2 separate regions of the Homo sapiens genome follow, and region 1 is linked to region 2. Evidence: promoter capture Hi-C in 16 types of primary human blood cells and fetal thymus (Javierre and others, 2016). All regions are on one chromosome and are shown on one strand. The core of a region is centred on a gene start or on the middle of the fragment in contact, and the rest is flanking DNA. Distances in the headings are between cores, read along the strand shown. Region 1 overlaps UBAP2 (ubiquitin associated protein 2). Region 2 holds the start of UBE2R2 (ubiquitin conjugating enzyme E2 R2).

The links. Contacts are between HindIII fragments. The CHiCAGO score rates a contact against its expected background, and 5 or more counts as called.
Region 1: a fragment that was not itself captured here is called in contact with the fragment with the promoter of UBE2R2 in region 2 in 1 of 17 cell types (fetal thymus); the score reaches 6.3 in fetal thymus.

What each region holds. Positions count from the first base shown.
Region 1 is chr9:34,024,112-34,031,277 of GRCh38, forward strand. All of the region lies in intron 1 of UBAP2 (ubiquitin associated protein 2), which reads right to left. Among named protein-coding and RNA genes, the nearest start is that of UBAP2, 21 kb to the right of the region's middle. RefSeq lists a silencer at 3,967-4,167. The HindIII fragment of the contact is 425 bases long and covers 1,473-1,897 here.
Region 2 is chr9:33,815,138-33,822,798 of GRCh38, forward strand. UBE2R2 (ubiquitin conjugating enzyme E2 R2) reads left to right here and starts at 2,023. Exons shown (of 5, transcript NM_017811.4): 1 at 2,023-2,797. The coding sequence starts at 2,621. It overlaps UBE2R2-AS1 (UBE2R2 antisense RNA 1), which reads right to left and starts at 3,731. Exons shown (of 5, transcript NR_170204.1): 1 at 3,490-3,731. RefSeq lists an enhancer at 1,533-1,622 and silencers at 1,913-2,012, 2,193-2,402, 2,473-2,642. The HindIII fragment of the contact is 11,190 bases long and covers 1-5,194 here.

The DNA.
Region 1 (7,166 bases), core at 435-2,934, 210 kb after region 2:
ATTTTGGGAGGCCGAGCCGGCTGGATCACCTGAGGTCGGGAGTTCAAGACCAGCCCGACCATCTCTACTAAAAATACAAAATTAGCCGGGCGTGGGGGCACATGCCCATAATCCCAGCTACTCAGGAGGCTGAGGCAGGAGAATCGCTTGAACCCGGGAGGAAGAGGTTGCGGTGAGCCAAAATTGCGCCATTGCACTCCAGCCTGGGAAACAACAGCAAAACTCTGTCTCAAAAAAAAAAAAAATAGCAAATACATTCTTTGAAAAATAAAAATAATTGTAAGGGCCTCAGGACATCCAAGAATGCATGCTTAAATAAATTCAGATTAACTTGTCTTCTGTCAGTTGTGCCTCTCCACACTATCACTGAAATGTTATAATACCTAATTCCCTATTCATAAAAAGTCTTAATATTAAAGATGTCCAGCAAAAAAATTTCCAGAGATGAAACAGGTTTCGCACAACAATCACAGGGGATGGGGGATGTGACTGAAATCTTCTGGAAAAACGGGTCAGAAAATAACTTTAACAGGATGCATGATTCAACAGACAAATTTTCCCGTATTAATTTTACATAAAACTTCTGATAAAGCCAGGCGCGGTGGCTAATGCCTGTCATCTCAGCACTTTGGGAGGCTGAGGCGGGTGGATCACTTGCGGTCAGGAGTTCCAGACCAGCCTGGCAAACATGGCGAAACCCTGTCTCTACTAAAACTACAAAAATTAGCTGGGTGTGGTGGCGTGAGCCTGTAATCCCAGCTATTTGGGAGGCTAAGGCAGGAGAATCACTTGAACCCGAGAGGCGGAGGTTGCAGTGAACCGAGATCATGCCACTACACTCCAATCGGGGCGACAGAACAAGACTCTGTCTCCCCAAAAAAAAAAAACTTCTGATAATTGTGAATCCATTAAATCAAGGTAAAAGCGTAAGTTACCAAAATATTCTTCAAGACCCTTAAAAATTGTTACCACCACTGAACTGTAAAAATGACTGAGACATGGAAACTAGACCGTAAAAATCAACACCTTCAACTAACATACTGTTAGGAGGAACTTCTATGTCCTCCTTTTCTGGGAAATGGAGCTGTGTGTAGTAAATAGGAATGCTTCTACAACAAGTACCCAGTTGCCAGACCATAGGAATTCAGTGTACACTTGTGTTCCATCATCTATCACTTTCCACTCCCAAGAGTTCTACTACACTGGAACAGGTTCCAAGAGAATTCTCAGAATAGAAACAGACAAGAGCAAAAGATTCTAAAAATAATCCAGTAGAAACTCAAACATACCTATCTCAAGTTCTTGAGGGGCAGGAAGCACCAGGCTTACTTCAATCTATCCAACCAAATTTTGAAACCCGTATTTATCTCACCTCAAAGTGAATTAAAGATGTGATAGATTTTAACACAGGTAAAGAACTGCTGCTACATTTTTAACTTCTTTAGAAACAAAATCAGCAAAATATAATATAAAGCTTCCTATTAACGATTAAAGTGAAAAAATTGTCTAAATGTAATGAGGAAAGAAAGTCTCCGGCCGAATAAACCAACCTGATAAAACTACAAAGATATTCTCTATGAAAGGAATAGTTTTGGAAAAAAGTTTTAACTGCCTAAAAAGTTTTGTTTCCGTTTTTGTTTTCTTTTTCATAGACATACGATCTTCCCATATTTGCCTAGGCTGGTCTCAAACTCCTGGGCTCAGGTGATCCTCCCACCTTGGCCTCCCAAAGAACTAGGATTACAGGCCTGAGCTACCATGCCCGGTTTAACTGCTGTTTTTTTCAAGGACCTTTCTGAAGATAAGATACCTCAGTGAAACAGCCGCATTTTCAAGTGATCTCAGTTTAGACTTAACTGAAAATGGTTGACTTAACAACCACCAACATTTCTGTTAAAGCTTACATAAGCACAAATTCATCTAACTTTAAGGCATACAAAAAACACGGTCGGGTAAAAACTTTTCTAAAAACCATGTATATACCCTAAACGAAAAGCAAGGACACATTTTATCATTCTGAAAAGTTACAGAACACTTGCTGACAACATACTGAGAAGAGGGAAGATTTCAACAGACATTTAATAAAAGTTTGAACAGTTAATTAAATCCCAAACTACATACTTACACTGCATGTATTTAAGACAGCATCACAAAGCATTGATTGGAAGATAGTTCTAAAACCAGGATGTTGACACACTTGTGCAAAGTATCTCAGCTACTACATCAAATAAATTTACGTTTCAGGAACAGAAAAACTAATGTTTTTTTCAAACCAAATATAATTCAGATGACATGAATTACATAATGGGCTAAGGGTTCAACTACTAAAAACAGGATACACAATTTATGTTAAAGAAGCAAGTCTTCATCAAGAATGTCCAGAGATGCTGTTCACTGAGTCATGAGACCAGTGGTGCAGGGTCTATCTCAAACTGGCAAGGATGGGTCTCAGGTCCTTCATCTATATATGTCCACTCATTCCCAAAATCTAAAACCAATGGTAATGACAATACTAGCAGAAAGCACATACCATTCACTATGTGCCAGACACCATTCTAAGCACTTTATATGTACAGTATTAAGTCACTAATCTTTCCAACACTCTAGAGTACACATTACTTTACTCCCATTTTACAGAGAGGAAACTAAGATACACAGAGAATCACAGCTAGTAAGTGGTGAAGGCAGTATTCAAACCCAGGACATTTGGCTCTACAGTGTGTGCACTTAACTATTATGCTATGTTGTAAGGCTAACTGTTCAGTCACAGATAAATAATAGTTCCCAATTCAGCTTCTTCTTCTATACAACAGCATAACTATTGTTGGCATCACCTGCAAAGCTTGTGCCTGATGACAAAGATCTGGTCTAGATCAGATCTCACCTAGCTTCTCAGCCTTTCAGATACCCATATGTTCTATACTGGTATATTTCTGTGACCACTACTATTATTTTTGTTTAATTTCTAATCTGTGTTCCCGCATTTTCTACTAAGAAAACAGTCAATATTCTCAACCTTCTCTGCAGAGGAAATTCATTTATTCATACCTGCAGAAGACAAAGCTCAGATTAAGAATCTGAGGCCAAGGCCAGGTACGGTGGCTCACACCTGTAATCCCGGCACTTTGGGAGGCTGAGGCGGGAGGATTACTTGAGGTCAGGAGTTTGAGATGAGCCTGGCCAACATAGTGAAACCCTACCCTACTAAAAATACAAAAAATAAGCCAGGTGTGGTGGCGCATGCCTGTAATCCCAGCAAATCGGGAGGCTGAGGCAGGAGAATCCACTTGAATTTATTTATTAAAAAATAAACAAAAGAATCTGGCCTGGCATAGTGGCTCATGCCTGTAACTCCAACAGTCTGGGAGGCCAAGAGGGGGAGGATCGCCTGAGCCCAGGAGTTTAAAACCAGCCTGGGCAACACAGTGAGACCCCATTTCTATTATTTAAAAAAGAAAAAAATAGGCCAGGCACGGTGGCTCACGCCTGTAATCCCAGCACTCTGGGAGGCCAAGGCAGGCGAGTCATGAGGTCAAGAGATCGAGACCATCCTGGCTAACACGGCGAAACCCCATCTCTACTAAAAATACAAAAAAAAAATTAGCCGGGGGTGGTGGCGGGTACCTGTAGCCCCAGCTACTCAGGAGACTGAGGCAGGAGAATGGTGTGAACCTGGGAGGCAAGAGCTTGCAGTGAGCCGAGATTGCACCACTGCACTCCAGGCTGGGCGACAGAGCGAGACTCCATCTCAAAAAAAAAAAAAAGAAAAGAAAAGAATCTCAACTAAATTAGGAGGCCCAGAACAGCCACCAACACAAAGTCTACACCCGTAATCGAGGAGAGAACAAGGTATCTAGGGTGCCAAGAAACTCAACTATGAGATCCAATTCCATGCAGCTCAACTGCTTGTACCCTGCATGCCAGGAGCTGAACAAGCTGATACTTTTATTCTCTGCAGCTGTTAAGGGCAGGGTCAGGCCTCTAGCAGCTGATGGACAAGGTTGAACTCCCCTACACCCACACTTCGCTGACAGAAGAATCACAAAGTTATCTGCTGTTCCATGGATATAACCTGCCCATGGAAAGGATGAGTGCTGGTGAACTCAAACACTATAGGACATCAAAATTTATTTGATATCGTCACAATTCTCTTTCAGGTTACCTAAGGCCACGAAGGGAATTAATTGCCCATAGCTGTTTGCACACATCTGTCCTATTCCTATCCTGCTAATTCAGCTGTAAACCCTGTCTTATTTATTTATTTATTTATTTATTTATTTATTTTGAGATGGAGTTTCACTGTTGTCACCCAGGCTGGAGTGCAGTGGCGCAACACTGGCTCACTGCAACCTCTGCCTCTTGGGTTCAAGCGATTAGCCTGCCTCAGCCTCCCAAGTAGCTGGGATTACAGGCACCCGCCACCACGCCCGGCTAATTTTTTGTATTTTTGGTAGAGATGGGGTTCACCATGTTGGCCAGGCTGGTCTCAAACTCCTGACCTTAAGTGATCCGCCTACCTCAGGCTCTTAAAGTGCTGGGATTACAGACACGAGCCACTGCGACCAGCCTTAAACCTTGTCTTTTGCCCAGCAGGTAACCAGGACTCTTCACCCTGGAATCTCTTGAAAAGCATGTAATTATTCATAACCAGTCTTCACCACTACTTATAACAGTTCTCTCTCTCCTACAAAAAGGAAAAAAAAAAGCAAAAAAGCCTATACTATAAAGCAGGGATCCCCAATCCCCAACTCCCAGGCTGCAGACTGGGGTAATTAGGAACTGGGCCGCACAGCAGGAGGTGAGCAAACCTGGGCGGCGTGGCAAGTCCTCGTCTATACAATAAATTTTTTTTTAATTAGCCACGCTTGGTGGCGCACACCTGGAATCCCACCCATTCAGGAGGTTGAGGTGGTAGGAATCCTTGAGCTTAGGAGATCAAGGCTGCAGTGTGCTATGATCATGTCACCGCACTCCAGACTGGGCAATAGAGTAAGACCACATCTCCTAAAAAATAAAAAAAACTCTTAACAGTTCCTAAAGAAATTAAACAGTTATGATAAAGACCAAGCAATCCTACTCCTGGGTATGCACCCAAGAGAACTGAAAACACGTTCACCTAAAAATGTGTACATAGGGCCAGGCGTAGTGGCTCAGACCTGTAATCCAGCACTTTGGGAGGCTGAGGAGGGTGGATCACCAGAAGGTCAAGAGTTTGAGACCAGCCTGGCCAACATGGTGAAACCTTGTCTCTACTAAAAATATAAAAAATTAGCTGGATGTGGTGGCGGGTACCTATAATCCCAGCTACTCGGGAGGCTGAGGCAGGAGAATTGCTTGAACCCAGGAGGCGGAGGTTGCAATGAGCCAAGATTATGCCACGGCACTCCAGCCTGGACAACAAGAGCAAAACTTCTCAAAAAAAAAAAAGAAAATGTATACATAGGCCAGGCCCAGTGGTTCACACCTGTAATCCCAATACTTTGGGAGGCCATGGTGGGAGGACCACTTGGGCTCAGGAGTTCGAGACCAGCCTGGGCAGCATAGCAAGACCTTGTCTCTATTTAAAAAAATAAAAAGAAGAAGAAGGAAGAAATGCGGCCAGGCACGGTGGCTCACACCTGTAAACCCAGCACTTTGGGAGGCCAAGGCAGGTGGATCATGAGATCAGGAGTTCGAGATCAGCCTGGCCAACATGGTGAAAACCCATCTCTACTAAAAATACAAAAATTAGGCCGCTGTGGTGGGGGCACCTGTAATCCCAGCTACTCGGGAGGCTGAGGCAAGAGAACTGCTTGAACCCGAGAGGCAGAGGTTGCAGTGAGCTGAGATTGCGCCACTGCACTCCAGCCTGGGTGACAGAGCAAGACTCCATCTCGAAAAAAAAAAAAAGAAAGAAATACATACATAGGCCAGGCACGGTGGCTCACGCCTGTAATCCCAACACTTTGAGAGGCTGTGGCAGGAGAGCAGTGTGGGGCCAGGAGTTCAAGACCAGCCTGGGCAACATAGAGAGAACCCGTCTCTATAAAAAAGTTTAAAAATCAGCCAGGTGAGCCGGGCGCGGTGGCTCACGCCTGTAATCCCAGCACTTTGGGAGGCTGAGGCGGGCAGATCACGGGGTCAGGAGATCGAGACCACCCTGGCTAACACGGTGATACCCCATCTCTACTAAAAATACAAAAACAAAATTAGCCAGGCGTGGTGGCGGGCACCTGTAGTCCCAGCTACTTGGGAGGCTGAGGCAGGAGAATGGCGTGAACCCGGAAGGCGGAGGTTGCAGTGAGCCGAGATCGCGCCACTGCACTCCAGCCTGGGCGACAGAGCCAGATTCCATCTCAAAAACAAACAAACAAACAAAAAAACTGGCCCGGTATGACAGAGCACACCTGTGGTCCCAGCTACTCAGAAGGCTGAAATGGGAGGATCACTTGAGCCTGGGAGGTCAAGGCTGCAGTATGCCGTGATCACGCCAGTGCACTCCTAGTACAGTGCCCAAGAGATGAGTGAGACCCTGTTTCAAAAATAAAATAAGGGGCCAGGCACGGTGGCTCACGCCTGTAATCCCAGCACTTTGGGAGGCCCGGGCGCATGGATCACAAGGTCAGGTGATCGAGACCATCCTGACTAACATGGTGAAACCCCGTCTCTACTAAAAGTATTTTTAAAAAATTAGCTGGGCATAGTGGCAGGCGCCTGTAGTCCCAACAACCCAGAAGGCTGAGGCAGGAGAATGGCATGAACCCAGGAGGCGGAGCTTGCAGTGAGCCAAGATCGCACCACTGCACTCCAACCTGGGCGACAGAGCAAGACTCATCTCAAAAAAATTAAACTAAAAATAAAAATAAAATAAGGGCTAGGCACTGTAGCTCCTGCCTATAATCCCAGCATTTTGGGAGGCCAAGGCAGGCGGATCACCTGAGGTCAGGGTTTCAAGACTAGCCTGGCAAGGTGGGAGTCAGGAGTTTGAGACCAGCCTGGCCAAATGGTAAAACCCTCTCTCTACTAAACATACAAAACTTAGCCGGGCATGGTGGCACGGACCTGTAATCCTACTACTCGGGAGGCTGAGGCAGAGGAATCGCTTGAACCCAGGAAGCGGAGGTTGCAGTGAGTTGAGATCGCACTACTGCACTCCAGCCTGTGCTACAAGAGCAAAACTCAGTCTC
Region 2 (7,661 bases), core at 773-3,272:
CAAAATACTTGACCAGTATTCTTCAAAACTGTTAAGGTCATCAGAACAAAGTCTAAGAAACTGCCACAGTCAAGAGGAATCTACAGAAACAGGAAAACTGAATGTAGTCTGGTATCCTGGATGAGATCCTGGAACAGCAAAAGGTCAGTAGGTAAAAATTAGGGAAGTATGAGCTTCAGTCAACAGTGATGTATCAATATTAGCTCATTAATTGTAATACATGTACTCTACTAATGTAATATGTTAATAAAAGGGGGAACTGGGCGCCAGGTGTAGGGGAACTTGACTATCTTTTCAATTTTTCTATAAATCTAAAACTGTCCTTGGCTGGGCACAGTGGCTCACGCCAGTAATCCCAGCACTTTGGGAGGCTGAGGTGGACGGATCACCTGAGGTCAAGGGTTGGAGACCAGCCTCGCCAACATGGTGAAATCCCGTCTCTACTAAAAATACAAAAATTAGCTGGGCATGGCTGTGCACACCTGTGGTCCTGCTACTTGGGAGACTGAGGTTAGAGGATGGCTTAAGCCCAGGAGGTTACTGCTAGAGTGAGCTATAATCACTCTACTGTACTCCAGCCTGGGCAACAGAGTAAGACCCTGTCTCAATAAAAGGGGTGGGTAGTGGTGGTATCCAGAATACAGCTATGCCTTAAAGTTTTTTTCTTTCAAGTTTCTATGAATCATTAACCATGTGCCAGTCACTACGCTAAATGCTGTACATACATTTAATCATTACAATTGCTTGTGTTGGGTATAATTAATCCCCTTTTACAGAAGCTGATTAAACAGCCGGGTGTGGAGGCATGCACCTGTAGTCCTAGCTACTTGGGAGGCTGAGGTGGGAGAATCGCTTGAACCTGGGAGGCGGAGGTTGCAGTGGGCCATGATCGCGCCACTGTGCTACAGCCTGGGTGACAGAGCAAGACCCTGTCTCAAACAAAACAAAACCAAAAAACAAAAAACTGATGATACAGGGAGAAGTAATGGAACTAGGGTTGGAACCAAGATCTGTCTAGTTCCGAAACTGTGTGTGTAGAACTCTCACAATATTCTGGCTTTTCTAGGAAATGTTTTTTAGGCAGTTATCCTAGGACATGCCTTCCTAGGAGAAAGGAGTACTGTATTCTGAACCACGGGGGGACCAAAGACTGTCCCCACATCTCACTTCGGTTATGATTATCTCGAAAGTCCCTCAGTTCCAGGGTGGACATTCAAGCCACAAGCACCTATAGGGAACTTTGACCCCTAAGTTCAACCACAGTAGTTTATTTTACAAATGGCGAAGGCGAAGGGCAGCCTGAGCACTTGCCCCAAATCACAATGAGAAGGGCTAGAGACCCAGTTTGTTATTGTCTTTTTCCTCACAACTTCCTCTTTGTAGTTAAGAAGGGAAGCAGAAGCTGACCTTTTTGTCTCACCCCGTTTCTCACGTGGAACTGCCGCACCCAGGGTGAGTAACGTGCCAAAGGGCACACTTGCCTGTGGGCTGGCCTGCGGGAAGGTCTGTTCCCACCGAAAAGACCCACATTGTCAGCACATCCTAATCAAGTAGCTACTAAGTGGAGGGACCGCAGACTGGGTGTCACGGGGAGGGGCCTGCAGCGACCAGGCCCGTCCCAGGATGGCTGCGGAGGCCCCTGGATCCACAGTGGGGAGGGCCCCGAGAGCCGGGAGACCTGGGTTCCCTTCCCGGGCACGCCTTTGGAACTGCGGCGTCCAGCCGCACAACCGTCACTCTGGGGCCACGGCAATCCCTGCGCCCGCCCTTGGTCCCCGCTGCTTCTGGGATCTTTATGGGCGGGGGACACGCGCCAGCGTCACAAAGCGCCGCGACCGCGCGGGAGACCGAGAGGAGGCGTGGAAACGGGAGGAGGAGGAGGTGGTAGTGGAGGAGAGCCAGGCACGGTGGGGGGAGGGGAGGGAGGGGCACGCGCACGCGCGTCGGGCCGCCAGCCGCTGAGAGCCGCCCAGCACCCGGCGTGCGCCCCTCCTCCCTCTCTCCCTCCCTCCCTCCCTCCCTGCTTCTCGGCTCCGTTGCTCCCGCGGCGCGAGGCGCTCTCGCTCTCCTCCTCCTCCGCCGTCGCCCCTCCCCCCGCGCAGCCCCCGCCGCCACCGCCGCGAGACCCCCGCACGCCGCTCTCCCCCCACCCTCTCCTGCCCCGCGCGCCCTCCGGCCCCTGCGGCCCCCGAAGAGAACGAGAGGGCGAGCGAGCGCGGCGTTCCCGGGCCGGCCCGGCCCCCTCCCTTCACCATCGCCGGCCCTCCGCCGCCTTCCTCCGCTTCCACCTCCTCTCCCCCCCCCCAAGTTGAGGCCCCCTCCGGGGGGGGGAGGCCCGGGACCGGGACCCGTAGCGAATTCTCCTAACTCCCTCGACCTCTCCTCTCGCCCGGCCCGAGTGTGAGGAGAAGGGCCCGGCCCGGCCTGCGTCGTGTGTGAGGAGGACCCCGGGCGGGCCCACGGGCCGTGTGGGGCCTGGTCTGGCCCGCCGGGTGTGTGAAGACCGGGGCCCGGTGCTGCCCGGCCGGAGGGCGAGCGGAGGGGAGGGGCCTGGTCCGGCCCGGCCGGTGCGTGAGGACTGGGGCCCGGGCCCGGCGCCGCCGCCGCCGCCGCCGCCGCGATGGCCCAGCAGCAGATGACCAGCTCGCAGAAGGCCCTGATGCTCGAGCTGAAATCCCTGCAGGAGGAACCGGTGGAGGGCTTCCGGATCACCCTGGTGGACGAGTCCGACCTCTACAACTGGGAGGTGGCCATCTTCGGACCCCCCAACACCCTCTACGAAGGCGGCTACTTCAAGGTACCCTCACCCTCCTCCCGGACCCTGCTTCCGCGGCCGAGGCCTCCGGCTCCCCGCCGCTTTCTGCAGTTCCTGGGACCAGGAGTATGAGCACGGGCGAGTGGAGGGGGCTTCTCACCCGTGCAGCCCCCTCCCCCATCCCTGGAGGCAGGAAGGCCTTGCTCGCCGAGTGCCTTTTCTTTGTCATGGGGGCGGGGGCTCGGGCGGGGGCGGGAGGGCAGGCTGCACCGGGAAATCGGAGAGCCTCTCTGGTTAGGGTAGTGTCTACGGGCGGAGGAGGCCGCCTTTGTTTCCCCCGCTGAGGGTGGGTGGAAAGAGCGGTGGTCTATCTGTGCTTTTTCGTTCTCCGGTCGGAACCCCTCCCTGCGCAGGCTGGAACTGCCCCAGAGGGCAGGGTGACCTGCACCGACTGGATTGGACTTTTCTTTTTTGGGGGGTGGGGGTGGGGGTGGGGTGGGGGAGGGGCACCAGCTTGTCATTTCAGAAGCTGCCGAGTGCCCTGACATTTTGAGGATTTGTTGGGCATCTTGGGTAGTGGTAGTGCCAACTTTGCATTCCAATGGGTGGTGGTGAAGAATGGGACCCTAGGGGTGGTAAAAAAAAAAAAAAAAAAAAAAAGGGTGCCCGCGTCGTCTTGTCATTATCCATTTGGGGGAACTTTAACCCTCTTTCCGTTCACATTCTCTGCTTACCTCAGTCACTGGTTCTTTCAAAATGCCCTTTGTCCTCACCATGCCACCAAGTTTGCCAACCTTTTTTTCTACAGGTAGAAGTATCCACAAAGGGTGGAACGAGTCATGTAGGGAGACTGATAGCTTCCTACTTTCAGAGACAAAATTGAAACCTGCTCAAGTGGTTAACTCTAGCTAAAGGGGTGGTCTCACAGATGACAAGTATCATCTGAGGCGAGATCGTTTCTCTGGGTGGGATGTATGGTTCCTTAGCGACCACAGACATTGTTTCTGTTGTTTTATATGGTCTTAGAACAGTGGTTATCATTCCAGAATCTAATGATTTTTTTTTAACTCCAAGGTAGTTAACTTGGAGATAATGAGTGTTTGTTTTGTTTTGTTTTTACTTGAGTGTTTTTGCAGGGAGGAATCACAGATTGAAAGTCTGAATATTTTAAATGATGGGGGCAGAGAGAGGAAATGAGTGCTTAGGAATCCATTTAGTTTTATTTTTTTATTTTCAAAATTAAGTAAAATAGGCCAGTGAGTCAATTTTAGTTTGGAAGGGAGGGGTTATCTTGGCACAAGTTTTAAATGAGTATCTTAGTCATGTAGTTGTGATGTGTATTTTTAGGACTACCCAATTACTTAACTCTTGTTTTCTACCCTTCTAAAGGTGGAAACCTCAGTTTTATGCTTGAAATTAGGTCAACTTTGTAGGAAATGGGATTGATACAGGAATGTTTAATATTCACTACTGTATATAGTCACTGAGTACCTAGGAAAAGCACGTTTTTAGAATATTATGTAAGTGCGGTACCCCTACCAACTGTTAGGCTTCATCTTTTGTGGTCAGCCTACCCTATACTTTTCAGATGGAGGTATTTAAAATTACTAAGAAAACATGCAACTTATTAGTAACAAAGTGGAAAAGATATTGCTGTGTTTATGATGAAGCATATTCTCTGTTGTCAAATATAAATTTTTATGCATACTGGAAAAATTAGTTGTACAAAATTGAATGTATGTGATACCTTTCTTTTTTTTTTTTGAGACGGAGTCTCGCTCTGTCACCCTGGCTGGAGTGCAGTGGCGCGATCTCGCCTCACTGCAACCTCCGCCTCCCAGATTCAAGCTATTCTCCTGCCTCAGCCTCCCAAGCTGCTGGGACTACAGGCGCACGCCACCACGCCCAGCTAATTTTTGTATTTTTAGTAGAGATGGGGTTTCACCATATTGGCCAGGCCGGTCTCGAACTCCAGACCCTGTGATCAACCCGCCTCTGCCTCCCAAAGTGCTGGGATTACAGGCGTGAGCCACTGCGCCCGGCCATGATGCCTTTTCTGACAAAACATTGTTTAGCAAAATCTGCTGGCTAATGTTAGTGGAATAAAGTTTGATTTCCAAAAAGTGTCATTGTTTGGTACAACCGATATTTAAAATAAATAAATGGGTACTAGTTAGAATAATCTCACTCCAATAAAGTTAAAAACAAGAGCAAACAAAACAAAACAAAACAAAACTTGTACATGAGAGAAAATAATGGGTTGCAAGTTGTAATATTTGTGCATAAGTCTGGGAAAGGAGTGTGGAGAACCCTCTCTGAAATAGGAAGTATGGAAGGATTCCTTGTGTTAATACACTGATTTAAATTAAATGCTTCTGAACTTCAGTCCTTGTTTAAAAGAATGATTTAATCTCGTGCTTTGTGATGTTAGATTTCTTAAGCTTTGAGTGTTTTTACCTTTAATTCTGACATGTATGAAAATTTGTAAACAGGTTTTATGGTTTAGTCTTGTGTGAGAAGTTTGTTCGATTGTATTTTCGACTACTTTTTCCCTTATATGGCCTTTTATCCCATTAGTTGTTCATTAGAAAAAGGCAAATTTATGGTCATGAGCAGTTGACACTGGGGATATGTTTAAAACCATTGTTTTTATTTTACTGCTTTTGTCTTAAGACAAGGCTTTTAGTGTATTTCACTACAGCTGCAGTTGAAAGTTGGCACAAAGCTTTCCCTACCATATCACTCTTCTCCCTTATTAAATGTTAGTCCTTGAACATTTAGTATAATTTATTTTCAAGTTAAACTCTTTTCCCTTTTTGGCATAGTCATTCGTGAAGGCAGTGGGACTGCCAGTCATTCTTTACATTTTTCATACTGTAATTCCTTTAACTTTTATATATTAATAGGTTTCTAACTGATCTTTTTCACCCTGAAATAGTTGGCTCTTGTCTCTTACCCACAGGATCTGCATTGGAGATTTGTGAGACCTGTATTTCACAGAATTTTTTTATTCATCCTGCTTTCGCTTATTTAATATCGCCAATCCACGTGATTCTTAGTTTTGGGCCATATAGATGTAGGATGGGCAAAGATAGTTTCTTCTGTCCATTCTGAATACTATACAATCTTTTTTGGCCTTACTATCTTTTTGTGTAGTTTCTTATTTTGCTACCTAAGCAAGTCGGAATTTTATTGTTACTAGAAAAATAAATTGTGGATCAAGTCAGTAGCTAATGAAGACTTTTAACAAGTTCACCCCCTTTCTTTTGAAAGGAACTTTTTCAGGGTCTTTCTCTGTCACTTAGTTTGGGGTACAGTGGTGTGATCATGGCTCACTGCAGCTTCCACATCCTAGGCTCAAGCAGTCCTCCCACCTCAGCCCCCTGAGTAGCTGGGACTACAGGCATGACTACGCCCGGCTAATTTTTTTTTCTTCAGTATTGTTAAGTGAGGTAGGGTCTCACTATTTTGTCCAGGCTGGTCTCAAACTCCTGGGTTCAAAGGATCCTCCTTTCTCAGCCACCCAAAGTGCTGGTTTTACAGGCGTCAGCCACCATGCCCGGCTGGAACTATCTTTTCAAATAACTCCTGCTAAGGATTGTAGCTTAGTGTGGGTGCTTTAGTACTGAACCTCCTTGGAACTTTTGCATTATTTATCTAAAGCATTATAGCAGTGAGTCTAGAGCCAGAAAGAGTGCCTCTTTTATGATATGCATAACAAAAAAAAATTTTTTTTTTTTTTGAGATGGAGTCTCACTCTTTTGCCAGGCTGGAGTGCAGTGGCACGATCTCAGCTCACTGCAACCTCTGCCTCCTGGGTTCAAGCGATTCTCTTGCCTCAGCCTCCCGAGTAGCTGGGATTACCGGCGTGCGCCATGAAACCTGGCTAATTCTTTTTGTATTTTTAGTAGAGACAGGGTTTCACCATGTTGGCCAGGCTGGTCTTGAACCCCTGACCTTAAGTGATCTGCCCATCTCAGCCTCCCAAAATGTAATCCTAATTAGAGGCCTGAGCCACCACTCCTGGCCAACCTTTTATAGTTTTGATTTTATTAAATAATTTGATTGAGGTAATGAAATATAGATGTGTTCCATTTTTAGAAAACTCCAGTCTGATAATTTAGAAAGTATTTGTTGTATACTTAAAGTTTTCCTTATTAGGAACATCTTTATTAGACTCAACACTGACATATATATATATATATTTTTTTTTTTTGAGACTGAGTTTTGCTCTTATTGCCCAGGCTGGAGTGCAGTGGAGCGATCTCGGCTCACTGCAACCTCCGCCTCCTGGGTTCAAGCGATTCTTCTGCCTCAGCCTCCTGAGTAGCTGGGATTACAGGCATGCGCCACCATGCCCAGCTAATTCTGTATTTTTGGTAGAGACGAGGTTTCTCCATGTTGGTTAGGCTGGTCTCAAACTCCTGACCTCAGGTGATCCCGCTCACCTCAGCCTCCCAAAGTGCTGGGATTACAGGCCTGAGCCACCACACCTGGCCTACACTGACTTACATTAAAGAAACTCTTCAAAACCTTTTTTTTTTTTTTTTAAGAGATAGGGTCTCACTTTGTTGCCCAGGCTGGAGTGCAGTGGTGTGATCATAGCTCACTGCAGCCTGAAACACTTGGGCTCAAGGGATCCTCTTGCCTCACCCTCCTGAGTAGCTGGGACTGCAGGTGCATACCACACTCGTTTTAATTTAAAAAAAAAATTGTTTATGCAGAAAGGGTCTCATAGGCCAGGCTGGTCTCGAACTCCTGGCTTCAAACAATCCTCCCACCTTGGCCTCCCAAAGTGCTGGTGTTACAGATGTGAGCTACCACACCCAGCCAAATAATTTTTTTTTTAATAAGAGAATATGCATTATTTCCTATGCTTCATTTGTTTTGCAATGAATGAATCTAT